Regions from separate parts of the Homo sapiens genome. Here region 1 is linked to region 2. The links are contacts of gene promoters, found by promoter capture Hi-C in human tissues and cell types (Jung and others, 2019). All regions are on one chromosome and are shown on one strand. Each heading gives the region's core, a stretch centred on a gene start or on the middle of the fragment in contact. The rest is flanking DNA. Distances are from core to core; before and after follow the strand shown.

The links. Contacts are between HindIII fragments. The study calls those that stand out against the background at their distance.
Region 1: a fragment that was not itself captured here is called in contact with the fragment with the promoter of AMZ2 in region 2 in 1 of the 25 tissues and cell types used here (hippocampus).

Annotation. Positions count from the first base shown.
Region 1 is chr17:67,980,852-67,984,153 of GRCh38, forward strand. It overlaps BPTF (bromodomain PHD finger transcription factor), which reads left to right. Exons shown (of 28, transcript NM_182641.4): 28 at 1,401-3,302. The coding sequence ends at 1,437. Among named protein-coding and RNA genes, the nearest start is that of C17orf58, 14 kb to the right of the region's middle. The HindIII fragment of the contact is 8,005 bases long and covers 1-3,302 here.
Region 2 is chr17:68,246,345-68,249,774 of GRCh38, forward strand. AMZ2 (archaelysin family metallopeptidase 2) reads left to right here and starts at 1,699. Exons shown (of 7, transcript NM_016627.5): 1 at 1,699-2,361. RefSeq lists enhancers at 219-765, 766-1,311 and silencers at 1,526-1,825, 3,135-3,184. The HindIII fragment of the contact is 21,931 bases long and covers 1-3,430 here.

The sequences.
Region 1 (3,302 bases), core at 798-3,297, 270 kb before region 2:
AATTCTGCTTAAATAAACAAATTAGGCTGTGTGCAATGGTGCATGCCTGTGATACCAACACTTTGAGAAGCCAAAGCAGGCAGTTCGCTTGAGCCCAGGAGTTTGAGACCAGCCTGGGCAACATGGGGAAACCCCATCCCTACAGAAAATACAAAAAATTAGCCGGGCATGGTGGCATGTGCCTGTAGTCCCAGCTACCCAGGAGGCTGAGGTAGGAGGATCACCTGAGCCCTGGAGGTTGAGGCTGCAGTGAGCTGTGATTGCGCCACTGCACTCCAGACTGTGCTACAGAGTGAGACCTTGTTTCAAAACAAAACAAAACAAAACAAAATTACAATGTAAAGAGTTGTATAAGGGCAACTTGCTGTTGCCTTTTTAGGGAATTTCTATTGTTTTCCAGATTTAAGGCAGAATGAAACATAACTAGCCAGTTATTGAAAATTGATTTATTTATGGATTTTCAGAATTTCCTTTGCCATATTTTCCCATTTTATGATCTCCAGCATTGTTTGCACATTGTTTTCATTACTGCACTTTGTTATAATTCATCATTTATACCATCCATATTCTTTCTTTTCTTACAGATTGTGATATCTTTAGTCTGAATTTTTAACTGGAATCAGAACTGGATGTTGGGGTCACTCTTTGTTTTATTGTACCTCGTGATTACCTAATTCAAAATTGCCCCCCAAAAAGTCAGATTAGTTAATATAATTTTTTAATGTTAAAGATGTATCGTGGTAAAAAATTTACTCTAGCAGCCATGTTGAACAATGTATTTAAAAATTGTAAACTCTTGGAATACTGTATTTATCTGCTATTTCAATATAAAGTCCTTTGACTTAGTCCTGGTAACTGTACAGTAATTTGGTTTACTAATGAAAGTTGTGAATAAAACTGTGAAACTAGAAGGGAGACTTTCTGGACTTTAATAGAAAAATGTGATTTTAAGATTGCTTTTTCTTTTGTTTTAGCGTAATTTTTCCCTTTATATTCCCCTCATCAATGTAAATAAACACACACACACACACACACACACACACACACACACACCTTTCACCACAATGGTAATGCTTCTGTAAATGCCTCTATTTGTCCAGTTGGCTGAAAATGTTGTAATCTTTATTAGACAAATATATATATATATATATATATATATATATATATATATATTTAAATATTGGCTTTTTCCAGTGAGCTATTATGTTTAGTGTACAGTGAAAAGTTTTAATATTATAGGTTAAAATTTTCTTAATCGTTCTTTTCTATTCGCTTGCCAAGGGTGAATGAAAGAACATGGCTGCTTCTCCCAGACTGACTGACCTTGGCATCCGCATAAAGCATCATTGTTTTCAAAAATGAAGGGTGCTTAATTGTTCCCTTTTTTCTATATTCTGTAGGTCTCATAACAACAAACTGCAGTCTACAGCTTCTTAAAGTTCAGCGTGTTAACCTAACATAAAACACAGCAAGAATCTGGTTGTCTGAACTATTTTAAATTAAGGAGCCAGATGTTTTTAGTCAGGCTATCCTGACAAGACTTGACCTAAACTTCGTTTTTATTGGTCATAACAGTCCAATTATATTCTTGGCCAATTTTGTCCAACGGACAAGAAAAAAGCAAAGTCAACGACACCATTATCTTGTCAAGATCAGATGGTTTTACTATTGTGGCAGAAGCGAGAAAACTTTGTTTATTGAAAAAAAAAGAAAAAGAAAGCAAGAAAAAAAGATACTATGGGGTCAAGTGTAACTCCATGGAAATGCCACGTCTGCTCTTCAGTGAAGAAGCTGGTTTAGAGTCTCACAGAAAACTTTTGACTGTATTTATTTATTGTTGCAAAAAAGACGCTTTTTTATTGCTGCCCTCATTTGTCAGCTAATTATTTTTTCTTATAAAATCCAGCCCCGGTTACATATAATCATCTGTATCTTATCATGATTCCTGTAGGTAAAAGTACAAGACGACCTCTAGATGTCTTTTCTTTCTATGAAAGGAGCTGCTATGTACACATGTGCACACACACACAACTGGGAATCAACAATGAGTTTATTGTTCATGGTAGATTAAAATTAAGCTTGCATAAAGGTTGGGCTAAGTGGTCCTGGACTACAGACTCTGTTGCCTTGAATATAACAGTACAATTTGTCAATTACTCTGCACCAGGCTAAAATGAGTAAAATCTATTTGAAGGTATCTTGTTTGTAAACATTTGTCAGATTCTAATTTTTTTCTTTTGTATTAAAATTCAACTATGGATGTATATGAAACAAAATAAATGGAGATAATTTTTCTCCCACAGACAGAGGTGTCTTTGAATGTGCGCTAATGATTATCTGTAAGCCTTTGTGGGGAGGGAGGCCTGCAAGGTCATGAAAGGCAGAAGAGTCTAATTGTGCCTGGATTTCTCCAGGACAGCAGTGGCCCCTCGTTTTATCATTCCCAGTCCATTGTCATCACGTCAGAGAAAAATCTTCAGGGGTGCTAATCCTGTTGCATCAGTTGATCATACTAACGAGAACGGTAATGCGACAAGATACACATTGCCTTCATCTGTACATTCTGTGATACCAGGCAAATTACCAATTACACACAGCTACTTATATTTTATGAAGGGCATTTTTTAGATGACCTCATCCTCTGTGTTATTTGTTGATTGGGTTTGTTTTCTGTTTGTTGGTTTGTTTGTTTCTTCCACGTAAGGAAAAGTAGTGTAAACAGTAGCGAGAAAATGGAAACCACAGAGGAAGATGTATTTTGCATGTTTTTCCTTTCAGTGTTCTTACACGTTGTATCACTGCATTGTGGTAATAGCTTCTATAAAATCTGCCATAGTTGGATTATGCAGCTTTGCAAAAATTTTTACTAGATTTTGCACTAACTCATATTAGCTTTGTCCTACCAACTTCTGGAATTTATCTAATTATTGTTTTTCAAAGTTTCTTTCCTTTTAATGTTTCCCTGCTATGCAAAACCTTTCCCAGACCTCAGTTTCTTAAAAGAAAGATGTTGCTACAGTTCCCGATTCTTTCTTATTACAGGCTCAGGTGTACAGGTTATTCTGGGTTAATTTTATCTAATGAAGCCCATTCCTTTTTGTACATAAAGATGTCACTTAAACTTATGCTTACAAACTAAAGACTAATCGCTCAATATGAAAACATGAAAAAATTTTTGCTTAAAGTATTAAGATGGAAGTAGTTAAATATGGGTTATTTTGTCCTTTTACTTTTTTAAAAAATGTTACATATTGTATGCACTGTGCTGATGCAAGAATTCTACATTTTAATGAGTTATAAAA
Region 2 (3,430 bases), core at 449-2,948:
ATGACAGAGCGAGACTTCGTGTCAAGTAATAATAATAAAAAAAGATGTGCTGTAATTGTCTCCGTTTTACAAAAGAGGTCAAGTAGTTGACACAGGTCCCACGCTAGTGAGGGTTTTGGGATTCAAGCACAGACCACCTTCGCCCCTATGCTACACCACCTCAGGCTGTCGGGAGATAGGCGCCCAGTCAAAAGGCACATGGAAGAAAGCCCACGACTTCTCAAGCATTGAAGCAGGAGTGGCGCATCGGTATTCTCAACTTCAAACTTTGAGAACAGTCATGGTAGGAATGCATTTTATTCAAGAATGGGTTCAGGTGAGGGTGGATATGGGCACTGGGTTCAAAGGACAAATTTGGAGAATTCATGATCCAGGAGAGTGAACAAATAAGGAAGGGCTAAAGAGATCCTCGAAGTTGAAAGGTTCAGAGTTAATGTCCTCTAAGGAGAGCCAACAAGGGGTTACAAATGCTGAAGTCATCAAGAAAATGTGCCTGTCTTTCCTTGAGACTGGGAAGGAGAATTAGGATGACGAAAATCCAGAGGATGGTAAAATAGCTTGACTTCAAAATAACAGGCCGGGCGCCGTGGCTCACGCCTGTAATTCCAGCACTGTGGGAGACCGGGGTGCGGGGGGGTGGATCACCTGAGCGCAGGAGTTCGAGACCAGCCTGGGTAACAGGGTGAAAACCCGTATTAAAAAAAAAAAAGCCGGGCGCGGTGGCCCACGCCTGTAATCCCAGCACTTTGGGAGGCCAAGGCGGGCGGATCACTTGAGGTCAGGAGTTCGAGACCAGCCTGGCCAACATGGTGAAACCCCATCTCTACTAAAAATAACAAAAATTAGCCGGACGTGATAGCGGGCACCTGTAGTTCCAGCTACTGGGGAGGCTGAGGCGGGAAAATCGCTTGAACCCAGGAGGCAAAGGTTGCACTGAGCCCAGACTGTCCCACTGCACTCCAGCCTGGGCAACAGAGCAAGACTCCGTCTCCAAAAAAAAAAAAAAAAAAAAAAAAGCAAGAAAAAGAAAGAGAATGGCGAGGCCCAGAGAGACCGAAAGTCCCACCAGAGGGTACAGAGCTAGCTCAGCCCTAATGCCGGCCCCGCGGTGCCTTTCCGAGCTCACGGCCTCCCCTCAGCATCCGGGTTTCGGCCTCGGAGCGCCAGGGACGCCACGAGGACGCGCCCCACACTTGCGCTTCTGGGTTCCAGCCCCCGCGGCCCCCAACAAATAAAGAAGGGAAAGTGCTGAGGGTGACGGCCCCGGGGAGCGCTGCGGCTCTACGTCAACCTGCGGCGGCCGCCGACTCATTTGGGGCCACGCTGGTTGCATTCGTCACGCCGGCGATGCCTCTCAAACCCGCGGCCTGCCGAGGACGTTCCCACACGGGAGACCCCAGCGACGCGGGCGCATCTGTGGCTCTCGAGAACCGGGCCGCGGAGCCGCCGCGAGCGCAAGCGAGGAATCGGCGACTGCGGGGGTGGACAGCTGGGGCTTGTAGTCCCCTCGCTACCCTCTATTCTGGAAGAGGCGGGTCGCGGCCGCTGAACTCCAGCTCTGCGCCTGCCCAGGCGGCCGCACGCTCAGGGGCGTGGCATGGGTGGGTCGTGAGTTGGGCGGGGCCCACAGGGCGTGCGCGACGCAGCGGCGCGGCGCGTGGCGTAAGGGGCGTGGCGCCAGTGGGCGTGGCGTGGCGCAGTGCGAAGGGACGCGGTGCGCATGCGCGTGAGGGCTGCCGCGGGTGGGTGGTATCGAGGCCTGTCGGGTCAGGGCGGTTCGCGGGTGCTGTCAGAGCTGGGCCGGGGCCCCTAGGCAGGGTAGCCGGGTCGTAGAGGCGGGGGCCGGTCGCGGTCGGTGGAGCGGGATGAGGATGTAGGAGGGGCGGACGTGGCGGAAGCCGCGGGGTCCGCGGGGTCGGTGCCTCTAGGGAGCCAGGGAGGCCTTTCCCGAGGCTCCTGGGGAAGAAGAGGCGAAGCGAGAGTCCCTGGGGAACCCCCACTCCACTCCCAGCTGGAGACTGGGTTGTGTCTGCATGGACCAGAGCCCACAGTGCGAGTTGCTATAGGCAACCAGCCAGGGTGGCCAGCTCCTTCCCGTTTGCCCGTGATGTTCTGGTTTTGGGACCAAAGCATCCTAGGCCTCCAGCCCACTGCAGTGACCGAATTCTGCGCCCCCTGCCCATCTTCTCCCGCAGCTTCCCTAGATTAGGCTTGGGAGGCAAGAGGAGGCCTCCTGACCTTTCACACTGCCTTTTTAATATTAAGATGAAGTCACACTCCACAACTTTCTTCCAGCCAGGCCCAGACATGTCCGTCCTTGTAAGTTAAAAGCTTCCATGGGAGCCTTCCTTCCTAATCAAGGTAGGTAGACTACAGGAAGGTACATCTTGTTTTATATTTTGTCCTGTAGAAGTCAGATTTCAGCCCAGTTGTGTAGGAGTGAGGATGAGCCTATGCTTATATCAGAGCTTTGAGTACAGAGACATTTGGTCTGGAATTTTAGTCAGCCTCTTCAACCCCAGAATTTATAGGTTCAATCAGAACAGACATTAGCTTAAGTTTTCCCATCAATCGTCTATCATTAAACTGGCAAAATCTAAATAATTAGAAAATATGACAAAGATGATCCAGACAGAGATGTTCAACTTTTTCCTTAATTCAAAAAGCCTCGTGGTGGAACATCGGACCCATTCAAGAGGAAGGATGAAAGCTCTATATAGGAACACGATGTGAATGGAAGAAACCTGTCATTGTGAGGCTGGCTTTTGATTAGTCATCTGATGTCTTCCCTAATGTGACATGACTTTGAGGCCATAAACTTCAGTGGCTAAGCTGTAGTTTCTCAGCCTGCAGTTAAATTGCAGAAATGATAGGGCTTACATTAGTTTTGTTTTTATTTGATGTTGAAGATCTTTGAGTCACATTAGAAACGATGAGTATTTTTCATGTGGCACTGATGAGTTAATTCATATTATTATTTTTTGAGACAGAGTCTCTATTGCCCAGGCTGGACTGCAGTGGCACGATCACGGCCCACTGCAGCCTCGACCTCCTGGGCTCAGATGATCCTCCCATCTTAGCCTGCCAAGTAGCTGGGACTACAAGTGCACATCACCACATCCGGCTAATTTTTTTGTAGATATGGGGTTTTGCCATGATGTCGAAGCTGATTTCAGACTCCTAGGCTCAAGTAATCCTTCTGCCTTGGCCTCCCAAAGTGCTGGGATTATAAGCGTGAGCCACTGTGCCAGGCCAATATTATTCCCCAAAAGAAGGAAGTTGGGTGTGAGGTCCTGCTCCTGTGGTCACCGTGAGGTTTTTTTTTTTTGTTTTGGACTCTTGCCCAGGCTGGAGTGCAGTGGCACAGTCATGGCTCACTGCAGCCTCAAGCTCCTGGGCTCAAGTGATTCTCCTGTCTCAGCCTCCCTGG